Linked DNA regions of Homo sapiens: all the other regions are linked to region 3. The links are contacts of gene promoters, found by promoter capture Hi-C in human tissues and cell types (Jung and others, 2019). All regions are on one chromosome and are shown on one strand. The core of a region is centred on a gene start or on the middle of the fragment in contact, and the rest is flanking DNA. Distances in the headings are between cores, read along the strand shown.

What was found. Contacts are between HindIII fragments. The study calls those that stand out against the background at their distance.
Region 1: a contact is called between a fragment that was not itself captured here and the fragment with the promoter of WDR1 in region 3, in 1 of the 25 tissues and cell types used here (lymphoblastoid cells).
Region 2: a fragment that was not itself captured here is called in contact with the fragment with the promoter of WDR1 in region 3 in 2 of the 25 tissues and cell types used here (lymphoblastoid cells and mesendoderm cells).
Region 4: a fragment that was not itself captured here is called in contact with the fragment with the promoter of WDR1 in region 3 in 1 of the 25 tissues and cell types used here (lymphoblastoid cells).

What each region holds. Positions count from the first base shown.
Region 1 is chr4:10,697,660-10,703,771 of GRCh38, forward strand. It overlaps a transcript of CLNK not described here. Among named protein-coding and RNA genes, the nearest start is that of CLNK, 16 kb to the left of the region's middle. The HindIII fragment of the contact is 6,731 bases long and covers 1-4,981 here.
Region 2 is chr4:10,856,845-10,862,646 of GRCh38, forward strand. No RefSeq gene overlaps it. Among named protein-coding and RNA genes, the nearest start is that of LINC02498, 120 kb to the left of the region's middle. The HindIII fragment of the contact is 3,705 bases long and covers 1-3,376 here.
Region 3 is chr4:10,113,820-10,119,918 of GRCh38, forward strand. WDR1 (WD repeat domain 1) reads right to left here and starts at 2,980. Exons shown (of 15, transcript NM_017491.5): 1 at 2,832-2,980; 2 at 2,294-2,415. The coding sequence starts at 2,847. It overlaps LOC124900666 (a long non-coding RNA gene), which reads left to right and starts at 3,270. Exons shown (of 2, transcript XR_007058030.1): 1 at 3,270-5,399; 2 at 5,508-5,658. It also overlaps the pseudogene RNA5SP155. RefSeq lists enhancers at 1-4, 1,837-2,641, 2,292-2,441, 4,212-4,311, 4,392-4,481 and silencers at 2,522-2,671, 2,752-3,161, 3,172-3,291. The HindIII fragment of the contact is 10,393 bases long and covers 1-4,041 here.
Region 4 is chr4:10,739,799-10,745,624 of GRCh38, forward strand. The region is part of intron 2 of LINC02498 (long intergenic non-protein coding RNA 2498); the gene reads left to right. Among named protein-coding and RNA genes, the nearest start is that of LINC02498, 5.1 kb to the left of the region's middle. The HindIII fragment of the contact is 4,925 bases long and covers 1,541-5,826 here.

The DNA of each region.
Region 1 (6,112 bases), core at 366-2,865, 580 kb after region 3:
CGGCCACTGGGTGTGTAGAGAATAAATTTGCTTTTAATTTTCTGTCTGCTAGCTCCTCCTTGGTGAAGCTGCCTACTGGTTCCCAAACCTAAATTGGCTCTTCACTCTCCTGGGAACATTGAACTGTAACCAATCCTTCTACATTTTGATCTACTCATTCGAACAATAGCCACCTTGCCTTTGCTTTTTTGAATTGTGAGAATAAAACGAGGCTCATCAAAGAATCATGACATATAATATGAATCCAAGAAATTGTAGATACTAATCTTCATCCTCTCCATCATCATGATCATCAAACAGAACCATGAAGACCAGAACAGGATATATGTCTATGGAAGTGCTGACCGTTTTGTGTTAATTTCTGTAACATAAGTAGGTATGTGGGGGTAAAAGCTGCAATAAGCAGATTGTAGTTCGGAATTAAGACCTTTATGAGAGGTGAACATCCATGAACTATTAACTCAGGAGGTGGTTTGTAAATTCCTTGTCTATATAGTCATGTGTCTGTAAATTGGAAGCCTCTGGTGGTGAGAGTGGTGTCATTGGTGGTGGTGATTTTACACTAGATAACATTAAAGACAATTTTCAAACTAGCAATTATAGGGTTTTATTAAACATTATTCTTAATACATTTATAAACATGGTTAAGTTTACAGGAACACTCTGAGGGCAAGGTCCATACTATAGTTGAATCTTTGACCCTTGTACCTGGTGAAATACCCATGCCATTATTACGCCCTTAGTAAATGTTAATTGCTAAGTGAGTACATAAATAAATAAATGGGTGACTACTGGAATAATAAAATGTGACAATATATATAAAACAGGTTTGTTCATATTTCTGAAAATCTGTGAAGCTAATTTTGTTCTTGGTGCTCTCTGCTTTTTCCTTTCATGCTCAGATCCACCTGTCCCTTCTGTCTCTTGATAGAGCTCCTTCCAAAATTCTCACATTTCTCAGATATTTTCACCCCCCAACCAAAATCTTCAAGGAAAGGTCAGGGAACATCTTTCAACTTAAGTAGTGAAAGAGCTCTTGTGAACCCTAATTGCAGCAGTTAGTTTTATGTGTCAACTTGACTGGGCCATGAGGTGCCCAGATATTGGGCCAAACTATATTCTGGGGATTACTGTGCAGGTGTTTCTGAATGAGATTAACATGTGAGTGAGTAAAGCAGATTGCTCTCCCTGCTGCAGGTGGGTAGGTCTCATCTGATCGACTGAACACCTAAACAGAACAAGATGGCTGAGTAGGAGGGAACTCTTTTTGTCATGGCGGCTTGAGTGGGGACATTGGTCTTTTCCAGCCTTCAGACTCAGACTTAAAGTTGACTCTTTCTTGGTCTCAAGGGTGCCAACTTTTGAACTAGCACTTACACCATTGGCTTTCCCAGTTTTCATACCTTTGAACACACACTGGAACTACACGTCAGGTTTCCTGGGTCTCTAGCTTGCTGATGGCAGATCCTAGAACTTTCTCAGCCTCCATGATCGTATGAGCCAATTCCTTACGTTTCTTTCTCTCTCTCTCTGTCTCTTAAACACACACATACACACCACATATGTGTGTGTATACACACACATACACACCACGTATGTGTGTATACACACACACACACCACATACGTGTATACACACACACACCACATACGTGTATACACACACACCACATACGTGTGTGTATACACACACACACACACAGTCATCCTTCCTATTTGTGAGGATTGGATATAAAAACCCATGGATGTTCAAGTCCCTTACATAAAATGACATTGTATTTGTATATAACCTATGTACATCCTCTCTGTCTCTCTCTCTCTCTCTCTCTCTCTCTCTATATATATATATATATATTTTTTTTTTTTTTTTTCTGAGACGGTTTTGCTCTTGTTGCCCAGGCTGGAGCACAGTGGCACCATGTCAGCTCACTGAAACTTCCACCTCCCAGGTTCAAGCAATTGTCCTGCCTCAGCCTCCAAAGTAGCTGGGATTACAGCTGCCTGCCACCACACCCTGCTAATTTTTGTATTTTTTAGTAGAGATAGGGTTTCACCATGTGGGCCAGGCTGCTCTTGAACTCCTGACCTCAGATGATCCATCCGCCTCAGCCTCCCAAAGTGCTAGAATTATAGGCATGAGCCACGGCACCCCGCCACTCCATATATTTTAAATCAGCTCTAGATTACTTATAATACTTAATACAATATCAATGCTATGTACATAGTTCTTATACTGTATTTTTATTGGTATTATTTTTCATTGTTGTACTGTTATTTTCCTCTAATATTTTTTAATCTGTGGTTGGTTGAAACTTGTGGATATAAAGGACTGACTGTGTGTGCATATGTGTGTGTGTGTGTGTGTGTGTATATATATATTTCCTATTGGCTCTGTTTGTGTGGAGAACCCTGATACACTCATGAAGTTTTTGCATTTCAATAGAAATCAGAGAAGAAACAGGTTTCACAAAGGGAAGAATGGCTAGCTATGGAATAAGGCATAATGAGATGAAGAAGATGCTGACTTTGGGGGTAAAGAAACTGAGAATTACAATTAGGATAAATGAAATAGGCTACATAGTACATCCAATATTAGAATTATTCAGTAAATGCTTTGGGAGCGATATGATTATTTTACAAGAAACTGAAGGTCATTGTGGTTACAACAATAGCTAGCAGGAGGAACGTGAACCTTGGAATCAAAGCCTGTCTAACTCCAAAGCCAAATATATATCCAGGCTGACTTTACAGAGATGTTGGAATTATTTATTATTTTGCAAGACAGACTTAGGTGGGTTGTTATTATACATTCACAGGGGTTCACAGTTTCCAAAAATCTTTACCTCATTCAAATCTCAGAACCCAACTTGTGATGTAGGTGACATTTATAATTTTACAGATAAGGCAGATAAGGAAACTCAACACATAGAAAAGAGAAGGATTTCTTAGTTATGCAGCTCAAATGCAGTGGTCGTGCTGGAGCTCAGGCCTCAGGACTCTAAGCCACGTGACCCTTTATTTGGTGCAGGTGGGTCGTAAAGGAGTTTACATTCTTCTGTAAGCTGCTAACAAGCATGGGTGGGGAAAATTACCTATAAAAATCCCTATGTCTTTCATACAATGAAAGAAACATGGTTTTGTGTAAACAATGGCAAACTAATACACAAGTGCCGTTGTGAAATGACAATATTGATTATATATATGTACATCTTATACATGTACAAAATGATGCACATATAATTACACAGATGTTTTGTATTCAAAAATAAAATTAGTCAACTGTTTCACTGCTTGAAACATTTCAGCAAATTGTTACGACTAAATTGCTGGAAAATCGTGATCACCGTCTGCACCCGTAAAAGCTTTTACCAGCTCTCTAACTTTTGCTTAGTCAAATATCTCTAAGCCCTCAACTTCTTCTTCCAATTCTTCCATAAAGATGTCCATGGAGCTATCACCATCCAACCTTCCTAGCCATGAATGAGATATAGCTGTTTCATTTGTTTGTCAATATTTTGACAAGGAAATACTTAAACTCATGCTACAGATTTTGCAAGCAGACATTGTCAATTTCAGGCTTGGTTGCATCTATTGCCTGTGAATGTAAAATGAAATCTCCCGCTTAAAAGTATTGTCTTCCTTGCCTCTCTCTTAGCCAGTGTGGTTGAAGGTCCCCCATGAAACATATGTGTCCTGACCCCCCTTTATCAGACTGTGTGTGCGAGACCACAGCTGAAAGCCAGCATTATTTGCTGCTACTGCAAACCTTCACTGAATTCCTAGCCCTTGCCATGTCCTGTGCTAGACTCTGGGAGGAAAAATAAAACGCAGTCCCCTTTCTCAAGGAGCCTGTTGTGCTGTGAGATACTGAAAATAAATAGGCAAGTTGTTAGGTGAATGGAAGTGCAGAGATATGCATAAGGAGCTGGGAAGGAACCTGATAATATGCAGGAACTGATCCTAAGAAACACTTAAACAGTGCTTGCCACACGCCACCATAGAAAAGGCTTCACATTTATTAGCTCATTTGATCCTTACAATTACTCTGTGAGGTAGATGAATGATCCCCAATTTATAGACGGGAAAACTGAGGCACAGAAAGGTGAGGTGATATGGGGTCGCCAAACAAGTACAAGTACTTCTACTTAAAGTGAAATCCAGGTAGACAGACTCCAGAGTTCATACTCTTAAGAGGAATCCCACACCATCTCAGTAGTGGTCAGTGGGAGAAAGCGTGGTTAGGCAGCAAGAGGAAGTGGGAAGCACATTCCATGCAGAGACAGCTGCCTATTCAGAGGCAAAGGCACTGAGAAGACATGGCAGGGGTGCAGATTTTCCGCTTGGCACACAGGTGTGAAGACACGAGAACCAAGAGGTGAGGCTAGACAGGTCAGCATATTTACCATGCTCCTTGCATGTAAAGACGTCCCTAGTTTATTCTGAAGACAATGAGAAGCCATTGAAGATGTTTTACATACAGGAATGGCATGATCTAATTTCCATTTTCCATGAGGTCATTTGCAGGAGCAGATTTGTGGGTAAAGACCTGAAGCAAGGAAGGAAACAAGCTGAGAGGCTCTCACAGGTGTCCAGATACTAAGGGAAGAAAGGACGTTGCAGGCAGGAAGAACACTCAGCTGGGAAATATGCACAAAGTAGACTTGAAAAAAATGGGCCATAAAGTGAAGAAGAGGAGAGTGCTGAGGACTATGGCCAGTTTAGATGGGCTGAAGGAAACACCTAAGATCAAGCAGGGAGGAGGAAGTTAGTCAGTCCTATTTTGGATATTTAGGACTGGAGCTACTTAGGAGATCTGCCGAGAATGATGCATGCACATCACAGGATGGATAGAGAAAGAAGTGCTGACAGGCAGCAAATCTGGGTAGAAGCACTAACTAAGAGCATCTTACAGCTGTGCTTATAGAATAGTGACATGTATATTTGACTATTTCTCAGGAAAGAGCATTCTGGAGGAGGTAGTCGCGCAGTCCAAGTCCTCCAGATGCCATTTTCTTGCACTACCATTTCTTGGATAGGAGTCTGGAATTCTGTCTCTAGTCAGGCTTACTCCTAAGTTGTAGAAGTTATCAGCCTTAAATGAATTACCATTTATGAAACACCTAGAATACTGCCTGGAACTTGCAAGTGCTTATTAAACAAGTAAAATAAGCAGATGGACCCCCATTGAGATAAGAGCTGCACTTTCCCTTCTCACTTGATTTATGCTGGTCTTGGGTAGAAGAACAGAGGGAGAAATCTGAGGAGCCAGCACCTTAGAAACGGCCAAGGATGACTGTGAGAAGGACCACTAAGAGACGAAGAGGAACTCCAGTGGAAGTGTATGTCATATGAGGTGCGTTTCTTTATGGAGGTGGCATCAACAGGGCAGCATTCAGCGCAGAGGACAATTAAGTTAAAAATAAAAACTGATCAATTAGATGTAGTATGCACCCCAAAGATGAGAGTAGGCATGGGGGGCTTTGTGGGATTGTTAGTGATAACAGTCTAAATGTCTAATTTTTAGACCTATTGGGTTCAGCTTTGAACCTGGAGTCACAGGCTAACTACACTAACGTAGTTATGAACACTAAAGAACACTAACTACAGTGTTCATTCAGATGCCAGGAATCGGCTACTTTTTGTTTAAGTGACTCAATAACCATTTGTTGAGTACATAATATGTGACCAATACTGAGTCAACTGGTAGAAGAAACAGAAGAAAACACATTTCTCAGGAGAAACACGTTTTGGGGGTTGTTTAATGTCTAGGCACGACTTGCCTGCACCCTCTGCTATGTGCTCCTGGGTTTCTTGTCTCAAAGCCATTTGTTTGCTGGATTCTGCATTCCTTAGTATAACCGAGAGGTACAGAAACTGTCTCACTGTAAGCTCTTAGAGAGCAGAATCTTTTCTGGGTCTATACAGTCATGTGTCACTTAATAAGGGGGATATATTCTGAGAAATGTGTCATTAGGCGATTTTGTAGTTATGCAAACATCATGAAGTTTACATATACAAACCTAGTTGGTATAGCCTACTACACACCTAGGCATATATAGAGTATAGCCTATTGTTCCTAGGCAACAAATATGTATAGCATGTTACTATACTGA
Region 2 (5,802 bases), core at 274-2,773, 740 kb after region 3:
GTGGGAGCAGAAAAATAGCTCGAGGACTATTGATGTGAAATGAAAAATCACTAATTCTAAGATTTCTAGGCCTTTAATGTGTTTACCAATTATGTCTACTCTATTAAAGTCATCTCTGTGAAATACTTATGAATAAATACTGTGACTCTTTTTTTTCCAAATGTGTATCTGCATCACCTTTCAGATACACATATAATTTCAGATATACATATAATTTATGTTTTTACTATAATTTCTTTGTTTTCAAATTGTAACATTAAAAATATCTTCAGACAGTATATTTTAACTTCTTTACTATTTTTCCCCATGGCCTCTTTTCAAAATATGTACTTGAACAGATTTTCAAATGTGTCTTGCAAGCCTTTTGAAGGTTATTTATTAATGAGTTCAACATCCTTGGCCCCCTGTGGGTCCCAAAACTATACCTGAAAAAATGGGAGCTGAGCTATCTTCTGTTATAATCAATTACAAAATAAACCTATAAAATTGATGAGTTAGAAACAGAGAGTGAGATGAGCATCTGGCTATGGCTATCGGATGCTCTCATTTTCTGAAATTTTTAGAGAAATAAATGATGAAAGAAAACATATTTTAAAAGTTGTAAGTTTGTTTGCTATAAAATCCTTTCTAAGACTGTCTTTTTTCATGACTTTAATTTTTACTAGCATGTCAGTAATTGCTCACCAATTTACACACATACACATACACAACTCGGCTAGTAATTATATCAAAATTCTAGATCAATTTGAAGAGAATCTTCACATGTTATAGTTCTCAATTTATTTAGATCTGTACTTTCTCTATAGGTATCTTGTGAATTATGCACATACATATACACATGATTGTATAAATTATGTATATGTAATCTATGTATAGTTCTATACATATGTATAATTATAATTGGTACTTACATTTCATTTTCTAATTGCTGTTAAAGTAGAAATGTGATTGACTTTCATATATTAACTTTGTATCCAGTGAACTTGTTAAATTCACTTGTTTGATTTAATACATCAGAGCTTTTTAATTTTTATGTTTTTAATAACTATAGGCAAATATAGTGTGAGTGATGATAGTTTTATTTCTGACTTTCCAATTCTATTAATTTTCTTGCCTTATTGCACTGGCTACCACTTCCAGAAGAATGCCAATTAGAAGTAGTCTTCTATTGCCTGAGTCTTGATCTCAGGAGGAAAGTTTATAATGTTTTGCCATTAAGAGTCAATGTATGTGTTTCTATAGGTGTTTGTTTGTTTTTATTTTTAATATCATTTATCCACTTAGGAAAGTTCACTTCTATTTCTAGTTTGCTTAAGGTCTTGCTTTGCTTAAATACCGGTTAGACATTAATTTTATCAACTTTGTTATGCAACTAAAAACAATCACATGAACTTGTTTTCTATTTCTTTTTGGGTTAGTTTTAGTAAGTTGCATTTGTTAATTAAGTTTTCATTATTATCTAAATTTTCCAATAATGGCATAGAGTTGTTCATAATAACTTCCTCATTTAACATATGTTAGAGCTGTAGTGATTACCCCTCTAGTATTGGTAATTTATGATTCATCTCTTTTTAATCTTGATCAGCTTTGCTAGGAAATTACTGGTTTTATTATTTATTTCAACAAATTGACCTCTGGCTTTGTTGATTCTCTACATTTTATATTTATTTGCATAATGCTATTGTTTTGATGTGATTCGTCCCAGCCAAAACTCATATTGAATTTCATCTCAATGTAGCAGTATTGGAAATGAAGTCTGGAAGGAAGTCTTTGGCTCATGGTGGTAGATCCCTCATACGTAGATTAATGCACTGGGGGTGAATGAAATCTTGCTGTAGTGGAAATGGATTAGTCTGGCTAGTGGTCTATCTATTTTACCAAGAGTCTGGGTTCCTTATTTGCCCTCTCTTGCTTCCACTCTCATCATGTGAATTTTTTTTTCACACACTGGCCCCCCTTCCACTTTCTGCTATGAGAGGAAGCAGCCTGAGGTCCTCACCATATACAGTTGCACAGTTTTGAAGTTTTCAGCCACCAGAATTGTTAGCCAAATAAACCTATTTTCTTTATAAATTATCCAGCCTTGGGCATTCTGTTATAACAACACTAAATGGACTAAGACACCTTTTATTCTATTCTGCTTATTTTTTCCTGCTTTGAGCTCATTTGACATTCTTTTAATATCTTTAAAAACACATCTAGGCCATGAATTTTTAATCTTTAAAAAAAAACATATATACTTAGGCCTAGAAATCTTAACTACAGTGTAACCTCATCCAGTGAGATAATTTTTAGTTACATCTTTTTTTTATTGTTTTATTCTTTGGAGACAGGTTCTCATTTTCTCATTTAGGCTGGACTGCAGTGGCACAATCATAGCTCACTGTAACGTGGAACTCCAGGGCTCACATAATCCTTCTACCTCAGCCTCCTGAGTAGCTGGGAATACAGATGTGCATCATCATGCCTGGTAATTTGTTTACTTTTTGTTGAGACAAGGTTTAGCTATATTGCCCAGGAGTGGTCTCAAACTCCTGGCCTCAAGTGATCCTCCTGCCTTGGCCTCTCAAAGTGCTGAGATTATATTTACATTTATTTATGTTTTATTTACTTTAAAATGCCTTCTAATTTTTATTGACCTATTGTTAATTTAGAAGTTTTTGCTTACTTTCAAAGTTAAAATATAGTTATCCTTATGTTGTTAATTTCAAGCTTAATTCTCCATGATCGGAACATACTTTGATTTAGTTCCATGTCCAAAAAAAATATTCTGTAGATGTTGGTTATAGTCTTCTATAAGTGTTAAGTAGGCAGAATTTTTAAATTTTATTTTTAATCTTCAACATCCTTTCTTATTTTTTATCTGATTTTATCAATGCCTTATTCTATCAGTGACTGAGAAGAGTGTGCCAAGATTCCCTTGATGATGGAACATTTGTATTTTCCTCTTTTTATATTTGTCAATATTTGTGATAGATGTTTTTAGTCTATTTCATTAAAGGAAAAACAGTTCTATATAATTCTAATAAGTTGATGCTTTTAAAATAATAAAGTATCCCTCTTTCTATCAACTTTCTAGTTAAACATCATGATTTTGGTATTTTAAATAAAATATTAAACTTCTTGATATTTATAATGAATATAATTAACTATAATATTCTGATATTCTAGTATTTGTCAGATTTATTTTGCTTAGTGATTCTATGGCATATTTCTTTATATTCTTTTATTTCTAATTTCTTAATATCTTTATATTTAGAGTCTGTCTATTTTAAGTTACAAAGGGTTTTGTTTGTTCTTTGTTATGCAGTATGTCAATTTCTGTTTTTAATTAGACGATTTTATCCATTTATATATGTCACATCTTTGTTTTTTGATTGACTTAATTTTTAAAACAATGTTATATTAACAGAAAAATGATGAGATACCATATAGAGTTTCTATATGTACCTCACATCTAGTTTCCCATATTATTAACATCATACATTGTATGGTAATTTGTTACAATTAATAAACAAATACTGATACATCATTATAAACTAAATGTTATATTCAGATTTCTTTAGCTTTTACTTAATGTATTTTCCTGTCCAAGAATCCCATGCTAAATTTAATTATTATATCTCTTTAGCCTCCTCTTGGAGGTTGGAATTTAGTCTTTGTGAAGTCTGCTTCATTGTGCTAGATTCAGCCATTTGGAATTCTAGCTAAAAGTCATTAAAAAAAAAAAAAAAAAAACTCAAGATGTATTCCAGGACTCTCTTATAGTCCCATCAGAATTCTGGAAGCTATTCTCTTCTTGTGAGCCTGTCAGCTGCTCTTGAGACATGAAAACATCCATTGAGGTAAAGTAGTGCCAAATATTGTAGTCACCTCTGTCAACTCTGGGCCTCCAAGTACTTGCCACTTTAATAGCTCTCTATTATCTTTGGTAGATTTTCTTTAAAAAATATTTTTTCAGCATTTCTTCATTCTGCACTGAAAATTTTATCTGCAAAAACTATTCTACCTTGACCATAATGGGTAAAGGCAATTAAAAAGCTTTTGCTCCATGTTTCAAACTAGCTTTCCGGAAACATACCAATTTGCATTCTTGCCAAAAGTTTATAGCAGTAACTATGTCTTCAAACACCACAGCAATATCTATCACTAGTAATGTTGAAGCTTAAGAAAATGAAAAAGATTAGGATTCATTTCTTTATTAGTTTATCCAATACATATTATTGAGCTCTTACTGTAGAGCTGACTTTGTCTCTTTCCTCTTACTTTCAAGAGGCTTCTAGACCCGTCCTTCTCTCCAGAAACGTACAAGCTGCTGGTAAGACATTACCTCAGAAAAAAAGACATGTTTGTCATATTTCCTTAAAAGAATGGATACCTATCTACATTACATTCACAAAACTAATGAGTCACCCTGGGGTCCATACTTGAATGAATATTATTTCCCCCAAGTCCAATGGACTTCCTGTTTGCTTCACTAAAACCAGACAATGTATTGGCAACCTTAATCTTTAGTTGAAATCTTTTCTTACTAAAACGCAGAAAGGACAAACACCAAACCAAACCACTAACAACAAACATGCCAGTATATAAAAGAAGGAGATCTATTTGACATCTCCTCTATGTTTTGAATTACTCCAAGTTTGGTGGTCAATGTGACTTTTTTTTTTTTTAGGAGAGTGGTAATGGACATAAATTTAACCACTTTTATTAACCAAGGGAATGTCAAGACATAGGCTATTATGTCTTAATATCCTCTTATCTCCATTTAACCCATAAATCATTTATTATGCATCTTTTAATGTAATATGTAGTAATTTAAAATTATTGATAAATTACTTTTGTTCCCTAGATGATGTTTAAGAGCTTTTATTAATAGCAGCAATTGAAATAATTATAATTAAAATAAAAAATATTAACAGTCACTGTCTATTTCTTGTATGCCATATGCAAGGCTCACATAAGTACAATCATGGTCAAATCCTCACATCTGCCATGAGTTAGCTGTTGCCCCCTATTTTTTAATTGATAAGGCAACTGTTACTTAGAGGAACTTTGGATATCAATTGAAGCACCAATATAATTTAAAGTCTGATTGATAGAAATGCAAATATCAAGTTATAACTAATTTAATTAAACAATAAATAAAACTATATGTTTATTACATGATAAAATTTATGAGGCATTCTTTTTTTTTTTTTTTTTTTTGAGACGGAGTCTCGCTCTGTCGCCCAGGCCGGACTGCGGACTGCAGTGGCGCAATCTCGGGTCACTGCAAGCTCCGCTTCCCGGGTTCATGCCATTCTCCTGACTCAGCCTCCCGAGTAGCTGGGACTACAGGCGCCCACCACCGCGCCCGGCTAATTTTTTGTATTTTTAGTAGAGACGGGGTTTCACCTTGTTAGCCAGGATGGTCTCGATCTCCTGACCTCATGATCCACCCGCCTCGGCCTCCCAAAGTGCTGGGATTACAGGCGTGAGCCACCGCGCCCGGCCTATGAGGCATTCTTGCCTTAGAAACTTGATTTTAATTAGGCAGAGCTAAATAAATGAGTAGTTCTCAATGATAGAAGGGGTTTGTTCTTCTCAGCGTGTTGTAGGCAAGAAATTTAATCTTATTTTTTTCCTGTAGTGAATGTTTCTCTCTGCATAGGCAGGCCCCATTTATCTTTTTTTTTTTTTTTAACTTAAGTATGCCACTGGCATGTGGAAAGATCTTTATATATAAATCATTTATGTTTCTTGATTCATTTTTCCTCTGTAACTGGGGATACTACCCTATAATTTCATTAAATTATGATT
Region 3 (6,099 bases), core at 1,730-4,229:
AGGTTTGGGGCCTGAACAGCTGGAGGAACGGTGTTCCCTTTTAGGGGAAGAGCACGTGGGAAACACAAATTTGGCTTGGAGTATGTATGTTGAGTCTGAGATGTCAATGAGACATGTTAGATCTTCCATGATCTGGTCCTCCATTTCTTCCCTCTTCCCTCCCTGAGCCTGCATTCCAAACAGACCATCATCCTTCCTGAACGGTCATGCCAATTCATGTCACTTTTTTTTCCAAGAGTACTTTGCCCTAAAAAAAATCGTACCCACCTTTACTTGAGTACCCAGTCCACCCATCCAACTAACAAGAGACTCAGTGCCTGATCTACATCCAGCCCAGGGAGGGCTATATTAGTAGCATCTCGTGCTGACCTGGCATTGCAGAAACTTAAAAATAATTGAGAAGGGAAACAGGGTAACCCCTGAGAAGAAAATGGCAAACCACGGGGAAGGGGTAAGAATACAGAGCTCAGAAACAGGCAGAATGGGTTTCACAAGCTGGGAAATGCTTTCTGCAAAGGGGTGCCTGTCCCTGAATGACCACTCCATTAGAAGCAGCTCCAGTTACTGGCCTGCCTCACCTTGCTAAGTCTGACTCCTCTTTAGAGTAACGGACCCATGTGGGGTGGAAAGAGATGCTACAGTTTAAGAAGCTATCACAGGGCCAGATGCACAGCAGGTACTTTATGTGAGGCCCCCTCCCTGGAAGTCAATGTGGACTGCAACGACAGGGAAGGCCTGGTTAGGGGCAAAACGAAATATCCTACTGCTCTGTATCCGAGGACGTGTTAGTGGATTTTATTTGCCAAACTACTAAATATCTCTTTAGGGTTGTCTCAATTTTTATTTTCTCAAAAGCCTCAGGACCTGCCTTCGGAGACTTCCAGATCATTACCATTAGATCCCTGGTGATTTTCTCCAGTTCTAAGCAAGGCCCTTCGGCTTTCTAGGAATCTGTGTGACTAGCAAGTTGTTAGCACCTTCAAAGCACATTCACACCCGCCCACCCCCTCATTTGAGGGGCCCAGCAATCCAGGGCAGGTAGAGCTCTGTCTTCCAGCAGAGGAACAGCAGCGACTGCCTGGGTTAACGAGACAGATGCGGGCAGAGCCAGCAGCTCTTCGGACCAAGAGGCTTCTCCTTTCACAGAGAAGGAAACTGAGACCCAGAGACCCCTTCATTCCCTCAGCCAGTTGCTGGCCTCCTGGAGGGCAAGTGTGTCCGATCAACAGTCCCAACCTACCAAGGGAAATCAGGCTGACTTTAAGTTGACAACCCTTGTATGCCTATGGCATCAATCAAAACATACATCTTTGTGCCAGCCGCCCCCACTAAGCACAGCACAGGAGAAATCACCCAATGGCCGGGCCGGCACCTCCAACTCCCACCCCACCAATTCCATCACTCAGGCTGAGGAAGGGAAAAGCAAAATTTAAGCGTGTAACCCAGGAAGGGAGGGAGACTGACAGACTGGGTCACCCCAACAATTACAGAGGAATAACATGAATTTGCAAGGATTTCCCAAGGAGCTGGCTCTAGAAGCCTTTTCAGCCTGGGTACCGGAGGCTTGCAGAGAATGATTCATGGGAAAACACTGCTTCCTGTTTTTGCTTTGGGGCTTAGATCCATGGTGGCAGATCTGGCTGGCCCAGAGGCCCGGGTGTTTTTCCGGGCTCTGCCATACTGGAAGACCAGGGTATTAACAGCGAGTTAGCTGAGTGCCATTCCATTCAGCAAGGGCTCAAAGTGCACCAGGCACCGCTGGGCTTGAGGGACGCCAGCAGCTCATTCATTCCATCTGCCCAGCCAGCAGGCGAAGCGAGAGTGGTCATCATCTCATCATCTGTTTTACAGACGAGAAAACTGGGGCTCAGAGATGCCCAAATCGCCAATCTTCTCAAGGTCACGCAGCGGCCGACCGGGTCAGTCTGATCCCTCAAATCCGGAGCCCTTGCTTTTAAGGAATGAACTAATCTAATCTCCCATCCACGTACTAACCAGGCCTGACCGTGCTTAGCTTCCAAGATCAGAGGCGATCCGGCGCTTTCAGGGTGCTATGACCGTAGACAGAAACGAACTAAGACTCAGTTTCCTCATCAAGAAGGAGCAGACAAGGACCTGGGTGAATCTGAGGCCGGCTTCCGGGGCTCCGAGGTGTGGCTCCCGGTAGAGGGGGCGTGGCGCCCTCACCCTCCCCGGGCCAATGGGCAGGAGGTGAGAAGTGGAGAGGAAGGCGAATTATCCCATCCCAAGGTGGCTCCGGAGCAGAACCGCGCCCGGGGTAGGGGGTACTCACGTCGATGTTCCTTAGGATGACGCACTTTCCATTGGTGTACAGAAAATTGTTGCCCTTAGGGTCGCCGCCGATGATCTTGGAGACGCCCCTCTCCACCTGCGGGAGGCTGGCGAACACCTTCTCTGCGGAGACACAAATGCGGCGGGGCATGTCAGGGCAGGGCGGGGACGGCGGGGACAGAAGGGAGAAGGAGCCCCGGACCGGTCTCGGCCGGTCACCTGTTGACTGCGCCGGGAGGGCGGCCTCCACTTTCCACGAGCGCCAGGAACCGCGCGACTTCCTGGTCCGCGCCCCGGGCCAGGCCCTTGGGGGCAGCGGGGCTCCTCCGGCTCGGCCCACGGCGCCAACTTGGGGGCGCACCCCCCGTCGGGGGTCCCGCCCTGCACCACCGAGGGCGGCCCCGCCACGCCTCCGGCCGGCGCCCGCACCCCTCCCCCGCGCCGAGGACTCCCCCGCCACCCGCACGGCGCCTAGGGGCCGGGGACCGGGGCCGGGGCAGCGCGGCGGCCGCTCGGGGGCCCCGCGCCGCGGCACTTACTGATCTCGTACGGCATCCTCGCCCACTTGTTACCGCGCCGCGCTCGCCGAGAGCCTCCGGGGCCGGCCCGCGCTGCGAATTACACCTCGCCGAGGCCGAGCCCGGGGACTGGAGCCGGAAGGCGGCACCGGGCGTGCCGGGAGTGGAGTGGGCGGTCCGAGGCCGGGGCTCAGAGGCCAGCTCGCGCCTGCCCTGCGCGCTGTGGTTGCGGACGCCCCGAACCCGGAAGCGCGGTCCCGCGCGCGGCTCGCCCCCAGCTTTGACCATATATAGTCAAGCGCTCGGCTCGGCGGCTGCGGTCCCGGCGAGCCTGCGCGGACCTGGCGCTCCCCTCCCCCGCCGGCCCCGGCCCCGCCTCCGCCTTGCTCGCCCCGCCCCGGAAGTGACGTATAGCACGCCCCGCGGGCCCTTGAAAAGGCGGCGCAGACAAGCAGCCGCGTCAGAATGCTTCTGGGAGTCGGGGGGTGGGTGCCTTTCTGTTGCTAGCTTGTAGGAGAAGCTGGGCTGTAGGAAGTTTATTTGCGGGGGGGTCTTAAAGACGCTGAAAGTACTGGCGGGCTTTGGTGGGGGTCTGGAAAAACCTCTCTGTACCTGTGACCGCGTTGCGTGGCGGGCGCTCCCCGGCCTCTCCTTTTTGACCGGTCCCGGGCGTTGCCCAGCCGCCAGTCCTCCTGCTCGGGTTTTGTAAGCAGGAGAGGGATGCTTTTTACGTCTTCTTAAAGTACGGTTAAGTGCCCTTGCTTGAAGTAGTTGCTGGCAACAAGAACGTAGGGGTTACTCTTTGTTGGGCCTGAACTCGTGCTTTTTCTCTCAAAAGTTGAGCTTTTGAAAGGCAAAAAAGGCGTGGGGGATGGGGGAGCTGTCGGTCTTAAGGAAGTTAAAGGTTATTTCCTAAACAAAACAAGTCTCACTCCTAAAACCAGGGTAGTGGCTCAGTTGTGGCGGGAGAGCAGGGGCTGTAAAGTGTCCAAGTTTCTAGTCTCATCTTTCAGTAGGATGGGTACAAGCTTTCCCCTTGGGGCTCTGGGGGCTGGGAGGGTTGTAAAAGTGGGAGAAAGCAAAGTATTTGGCGGGGTGCGGGCGGGTAGCTGAATGTTGTTGTAAGTGGAAGAGGAATGCTGTTGGCGTCTTTCTCTAAGCACGGTTAAGTGCTTTTTCTTGAAGTAGTTACTGGCAACAAGAACGTAAGGGTTACTCTTTGTTAGGCCTGAACTCGTGCTTTTTCTCAAAAGTTTAGCTTTTGAAAGGCAAAAGTGGGGGTGGGGGCGCTGCTGCTTTTAAGGAAGTTAAAGGTTATTTCCTAAGAAAGCAAAACAAGCCCCACTTGTAAAACCCGGGTAGTGGCTCAGCTGGAGAGCAGGCGCTGTGAAGTGTACAAGTTTCTAGTCTCATCTTTCAGTAGAATGGGTACAAGCTTTCCCTCGGGGCTCTGGGGGTGGGAGGGTTGTAAAAGTGGGAGAAAGCAAAGTACGTGGGTGGGGGGTAGCTAAATGTTGTTGTAAGCGGGAGATGGATGCTTTTGGCGTCTTTAAGCACGGTTAACTGCCCTTGAAGTAGTTGCTGGCAACAACGTAGGGGTTACTCTGCTGGGCCTGAACTTGTGCTGTTTCTCTCTCTCAAAAGTTAAGGTTTTTAAAAGGCAAAGGCGTGGGGAGAGGGGTAGGGGAGCTGCTACTTCTAAGGACGTTAAGGGTTACTTCAGAGCAAAACAAGCCCCACTTCTAAAACCAGGGCAGTGGCTCAATTGTGGAAGGGAGAGCAGGGAATGTGAAGTGTCCAAGCTTCTAGTCTCGTCTTTCAGTAGCGTGGGTACAAGTTTTCCATTGGGGCTCTGGGGGCTAGGAGGGTGGTAAAAGTGGGAGAAACCAAAGTACTTGCGGGTAGCTAAAAACTCTGAAACCCACGCTGTGAGCGGTTCCTGCTTCTCTGAAAGGTCTGTTCTGCTTAAGGTTGTATCAAGGTTAGTCTCTTGCTACCTACTTCTGTAGAGCAGTCTCTCGTGGCTCACCTGGGTTAGTGGCCATGTTGCCTGTCTCCTATTCTTCCTAACCTTGTGTGTTCTCCAGGTAGCTGAGTGATCCATCCGAAGTAAAATATTCCTCAGCTTGTCTGTAGGGGCTCCAAGTTTCATGAAGTAAAAGCTAGTCTTGAAAACGGCCCATTAGGGTCCTGGATGACAGTCTCCGGGTCACTTAGACTCCGTTGTCCGCCTCCCCTCATCTGTATCATCTTTGCCTTGGGTACTGGCTTCGGAGGGTGTTTTCCTGAAACTCTTACCTGAGATCTACTTGGCTGACTCCTGTGTCCTTCAGAAGTACTTAATTGCTCAAATGTTAGTTGATGAGTGTCACCGGTCTCATTTTAAATTGCAACTTCAACCCCTTGCAAACACTGCTTCTCATTCCCGCGTTCCCTAACTTTAACTCTCAGGAATAACCCTGACACCTGGAAGATGCTCCTAGGGATGACCCCACTCCCCACCCACAACTGTTAATCAGGAAATAACGGATATGAAAGTAGCTCTGCGAACTGAGGAGCCGTGGAGAATGTACAAAACAGATTCCTAAAGTAAGATACGCAGGCCCGGCTTGTAGGCCGCTGCATCTGCTTTGATAACTTAGAACTCATCAAATCACCTTGAGACCCTTAAAACAAATGGTATAATTGCATTCACAGGTAGTGCATTCGTGTAACAAGATTAAGAAAACGAAGGACCAACTTCAAGCTCTTGCAAGCTGGTAACCTTTACACTCGTGCATAAAGCCTTGCTGGAGTTGACACTGAAAACTAAACAGTCGAACTTGAGTAAAACATATCCAAACTCCCAGCTGCTGGGCTCTACAGCTTATTTTTAGCTTGAAAGTTACATGTTGGAGCTGCAGAGGCTTTATGGTGGTGGTGGGGGAGCTGTTTGTTCGTAGTCACTTGAGTCTATATGAACGTGGCAGGAAATCTGAAGGATGTGAAAGGAAAATGGGAAACACCAGGGTGTTCCAGGATTTTCCCTGTGGGGCGCGAGCTCAGTTTGGTGTTGTCAGCTGTGGGAGCTTTAACACTTGAACCGTCTTTACTGTGGGTCTAGCCTATTCGTTGGGCTCCCCTAGTCACCACTCATGCCTTCGTGTATCCTGTTGTGTTGGGCCCCCACTGAATTAAATAGGGATGGCACCATGTTCGAGAAGCCGAGGCGACCCAGAGCCAATGAACACATATGGTGTATGGAGGGGACTTGAATACAGAGTGGTCCAGAGCAGCCAGCTGGGACAGA
Region 4 (5,826 bases), core at 2,753-5,252, 630 kb after region 3:
AGGCCAGGTGTTTACATTATTGACTATCATATCCCTACTAATAGAGGGACTGACTAATAACAATAAGTGCCCAATGTATGCCTGTAAAATAAAGAAAATTTTAAAATAAGAACAGAGAGTCATAAGAACAGAGAGTCAAATGAGCAGATACCTACATACACATTTTAAAAATTGATATGGATGGTAAATGACACATACATGTAAATAGAAAGATAATTAGAGGGATAAATACATAATCAATTGGAGACATAGGTAGATTATGGAGACAAAGCTAAGAGGAGGAGGGACGTGAGGATGCCAGGCCCAGGTTGCTCTCTTGTCTCATTGCTTTTTAATGCTTCATACCCTTCCCATTCAATTCTTTGGAAAGTCCTAAGCAGTGTTCTATCATATTCATATTGAATTAGCTAGTTTCCCTCTCTACTCCCTTCATGAAAAGATGGACAACAAAATTTTTGTTGCTGCTGTTAAATTTAATAAGCACTCAATTTTTCAAAGCTGTCTACAGCTGATCTAGTTTCCTTTCAAACTAGTATAAGAAAACAATGTTTTTGCCAGTTATACCTGACATAACATGCATGAGGTGTTTATGTGGTAGGAATCTATCTACTATACAGATAAGAAAACAAAAATGAGCTGTGTCAACAGGAATCGGCTTTAGTCATAGCAGGGCTAGAAGTGGTGGCTCATAGGGACAGAAGGGGTCTTTTCTGCTAAATGAATTCCAACTGATGAATACAAGATGTTGTCAAGAAGAAATTCTCTGACACTCTGTTTGTGGCTTATATGCTGTATGTTTAATGTGAAGAATGGATTACTCTTATTTCTGATTTCTAAGGTGAAAGTTGAGTTAGGCTCATTTGTTGGAAAAACTCTCTAGCCTGCAGAGTTCAACGTAGCAACCTAAGCCTAAAGGAAGTCCTGTTTTCTTTAGGAGTAAAATGTAGTTTTGTTTGGAGGGCTAAGATGCAAAATTGGGTTCTTTCTGTCATGGTGGCTGCCCTCCTAATCAGATATGGAATTCGGAGTTGGAAAAGTAAATAAATCCCAAGATAGGAGAGGAGTATGTGAGGTTAGTACAGCTTAAGCTTCATCATGTGTGGGACTGTGGACAAGTCATTTTTAGTTACCTTTGGTGAGAACTAAATCTTCACCAAATATTCTTAGTGATTTTTAGAATGTTTTAAGATCCTGTGAAGAAAAACTAAACATTTTAATGTTTTTTTTTCTTGAGAACTATAAATTTTGCTTTATGACAAATTGCTATTTTGTGGTGCAATATCACCAACGAGGCATGCAGGAACCACATTCTTCTAGGTCTTCTCCTCTTCCTGTCTCTTAGTTGATCTACTATTCCTCCTCTTTCTCTCCCAAGCTCTAAACACAGGTTTCCAGTTTAGGTGTTACAGAGGTATCAGTTTATTCCTTATAGACAAATTCTTAGGAGTTGCTAGAATTTGTTCATAAACCTGGGTGAAGTAAATTGGTTTTAAATATTTATACTGGAGTATGGTAATATTTAAAAAGAAATGCAGAATATTAGCATGCCCACTCCCAAGCCTCACCACTTCTTAACTATAACACGGCTAAGTTGCCCAACCTCTCCTGGTCTCGGGTTTCACAACTGTGAATCAAGATGCACCTGATTGTTTAAGTTCTTATGACCTAATCCAAAGAAAGTTTGTATCCAAGTGTCTAACATACGGTAAATGCTCAGAAGATGTCTGGTATTATTAAAATAAAATTTGAATTTGTCTTACCTGTTAAGGATCACTGACAGTGCTGCCCCTGATAGTTTTGTGTTTCATTGGTTTCCTGTATCTCACCTAGTCAAATATACTTCTTAAAAAATTCTGAATATTATCAGTGCCTATGATATGTATAGAACAGGAAGACATTTGGAACAGGAAATATGAGCATCATATCATGTATTTCATGTAGTGATGTAGTGTCCTCCGCAAACCCTCTGATTGCCACACAGTCAAAGTCTAAGCTTGCCAGCATGGCAACAAAGACGACTCCCAATCAACTGTCTTCAGCTTCAATTTCTGTTGCTTCTCTACACGAACATTCTCTACATGAGCTGGCCAAGAATACCTCTCCTCAAGCATCCCTGGTTACCTGCTCATGTACTCCTTCATTCTAGGAGCATTTGGCCAGAGTGATCTTTCTGAAATGGAAGACTCATGTATTGTTCCTGTGAGTCAGATGGGAAGCTGATGGAAAGTCTTCAGCAGAGAAAAATCCAAAGTGACTGCAATGATTTACGTGACTCTACAGATCCTGGCCCCTGTGGGTATCACCTCCCACCTCTCTACTCTTCACTGGCTGCACTCCAGCCATATTGGTTCCCTCACTTTCTTCACACTCAGTAAGAATGCTCTACCTCAGGGCCTTTGGATATTCTGTTTCCTCTCCCTGGAAATGCCTAATTCACTGGTTTTCACATGTCTCCCTGCTTTTTTCCTACTATGGGTGGCAGGTGGGATGTCACCTTCACAGAGAGGCTGTTTTCTGTGTGCACTTTATTACATAGCAACACATCCTTTGTCTGTTTCAGTTTCCTTATGCTGCTTTATTACTTTTTTCATAGCACATCTCTCCACTAGACAAGTCTGTCTTTATTTTTTTGTTGTTTGTTATGTAAGGTCCATGAGAACATGCAGTTTGTCTTATTTTATCTTCATTGCCCAGAATAGTACATTGGGTAGTATTAACCATTACCTCAGAATGACTGAACCCCCCACCAAGCTCTCTAGTGTTGTTCACAGTTTCCCCTTGTCTAGAGTTCCTTGTTACTGTGTTTAAATTTGGCTCAGCTTTTTTCAGCTTACTGAAATCTATCATCTCTTTGAATCCTTCAGTGAACATCCTGGTCTATAGTGATCATCTGTCCCCCTACATTTCTGGAGGAATAAAAAAATTTACTTGTCTATTATCATCTGTGACTTTGTATGTGCGAAAGAGGTTGTTGGTTAACTAAATATGTCCTGGGGTCAGATTGCCTGGGATCAAATCTTGGCTTAGCCATTTATAAGTTGAGTGACCTTGTGCAAGTGACATAGCTCACCTGCCATTCCTTCACCTGTCAGAGAGAATAGGACTAGTGCCCATTGCATTCATTTGCTGCATGACTTAAATGAGTTACATTCATCAAAGCATCATCCCTGGCACATGTAAGTGCTCAGTCAACGTTTGCACTGATTTTTATCACCTACATACATTGTGTCCTCAGCTAGATCAAAAGCTCTGTTCTATGTGCCATAACATCTGGCAGAGTCTTCCACACAGCAGGTGCTCAATAACTCTATTGACTTTTGGTAAAATTATTTCCCAAAAGAAATGTCAGAAGAAATGCTTAGAAAAATTATGCCAAAGCAATTATGTTTGTAAAGCTGTTTTGAGACTTAGAAAGGGTAAAGGAGAGTTTCAAAAGAAATTCCCTTTACATACTCAGTTGGAAAACATTTTCTAAGCATGCACTAAGGGCTAGCCATTGTGCTCCATGCTCTAGAGATGCAGTGATGAAAATGGCATGGGTCTTTTCTATAAGAGTTTGTGGGGACAAATATGTGAGTGAATGGCTGTAATAGACTGTGAAGAGGGCTGAAAGGGAGGTGTGTGCAAAGCATGATAGTGTCACAGCGGTCATTTATGGATGGGGGATGTACTGGATAGTTGCTTTTTCAGCTTGACTTTGGTAGCCTACATTTCTATTTCTGTGTGCTGCATGAACGATTTTGAAAATGAGAATGGTGTTAAGATTGAAAATGAAATAGGGTCCCCAGGGAATAAGAGCAGAAGTGGTTTGGGGAGAATATACCAAAACTGTGTAAAACAAGAAGCACAGATTGAACCAAAATTGTTTATTTCTTTAGGTTTCGCTATAACCTAGAAAAAAAACATTCTGAAAACAGCACATTGACTAAGACTTAAGATTTGTTGCCTTATTGTTCTAGCATGTTGTTAAGTAATACAATTGTTTCTGTCTTCAATGTTCTCTAATTGCAAGAATAATATGAAAATGGCATAAAACTGTAGGGTAACTGTCAGGGCCATGAAGAACAAAGCATGTTCAGGCCTCCAGGACCATGGTTTATGCCACCTGTTCTCGTCTGTCTGCTCCGACCCATTATTCTGATTTCTGTCTTATCTGACAATGTCTTTCAATGACAAACACAAAATTAAGATAGGTTGAAAATGTAATTCTAAGCATCACTTTTAAGAGATAAAAGAAAAAATAAGCATCTTTTACTTGAGAATTTACCTGTTCACAAGTAAATTGAGTTTTCTGTTAATCTTTGTACATGTGTGGCCGGTGTGCCTACTGTTAAATTGATACAAGATCAAGATATAAAATCAATTACATTTCTATATACTAGCAATAAACAATATGAAAAGTAAACTAATAAAACAATTCCATTTACCATAGCATTAAAAAAGATTAAAATATGAAGAAATTAATTTAACAAAAGAAGTGCAGTACTTATACATGAAACTATAAAACATTACTGAAAGAAGTTAAAGAAGAATCTTTAATTTAGGGAAATTAAAGAAAAATCTTTAATAAAGGGAAAGCTATTTTATGTTCATGCATCAGAAGACTTAATATTGCTAAAGTGGCAATACTCCCAAAATTGATCTACAGATTCAATAAAATCTCTATCAAAATCTCAGGTAATTTCTTTTGAAGAAATTAAGCTGATTATAAAATCTATATGGAAAATCAAGAAGCTCAGATTGGAAGAAAAAATTCTAAGTACAAACAAAGTTGGATAACTCACATGTTTTGATTTAAAAACTTACTATAATTCTATGGTAATCAAGATAGTGTGGTACCGGCATAAGAATGGAAACAGAATAATGGAATAGAATCAAGGATGCAAAAATAAACCCTTACATTTATCACAAAATTAAAAAATTATTCTTCAAAGGACACCAGCAAGAATGTGAAGAGGCAAACCACAAAATGAAAAAAATGTATTTGTAAATTATTTATCTAGTAAGGAATTTGTATTACATAAAAAAATTTTAACCCAACAATGAAAAGGCAAGTAACCCAATCAAAAAAATGAGCAAAGGATCTGAATCGACATTTCTCCAAATAAATATTAAGTATTTCTCCAAGGAGGATATACAACTGGCCAATAAACACACAAAAATAATACTCAAACATCATTACTCATTAGGGAGATGTATATCAAAATCACAATGAGCTACCACTTCACACTTATTAGGATGGTTAAAATAAAAAAGACAAGTACAAATAAGGATGTGGAGAAAATGTTAAGCAGAGTTATCACCTACAAATTCCATTTCTGGGTATAAAACACTTGGACATAAATGTTCATAGCAGCATTATTTGAATTAACCAAAAATGGAAACAACCCAAATGTTCATCAGTTAATGAACGGACAAACAAAATGTGATATATTCATACCAGGGAATGTTATAAAGTCATAAAAGTGAATGAAGTACCCATGCATGCTACAACATGAATGAACCTTGAAAACATGTAAAGTGAAAGAAGCCAGTCACAAAATATCACATATCATATGAGTGCATTTCTATGAAATGTCCGTAACAGGCAAATCTATAGTCAAGAGGTAGATTGGAGGTTGTTCAGAAGAAGAAGTTAGGGGAAATAGGGAGTGACTGCTAATTGGTATGCGAATTTTTAAGGAGAAATGAAATGTTTTAAAATAAAATAGTCATAATTGTTGCACAACTCTGAGTATACTAAAAATCACTGGATTGTACACTTTGACACAGTGAATTTTCTGACCTATAAATTGTACCTCAATGAAGCTGTTATTTCAAAACCCT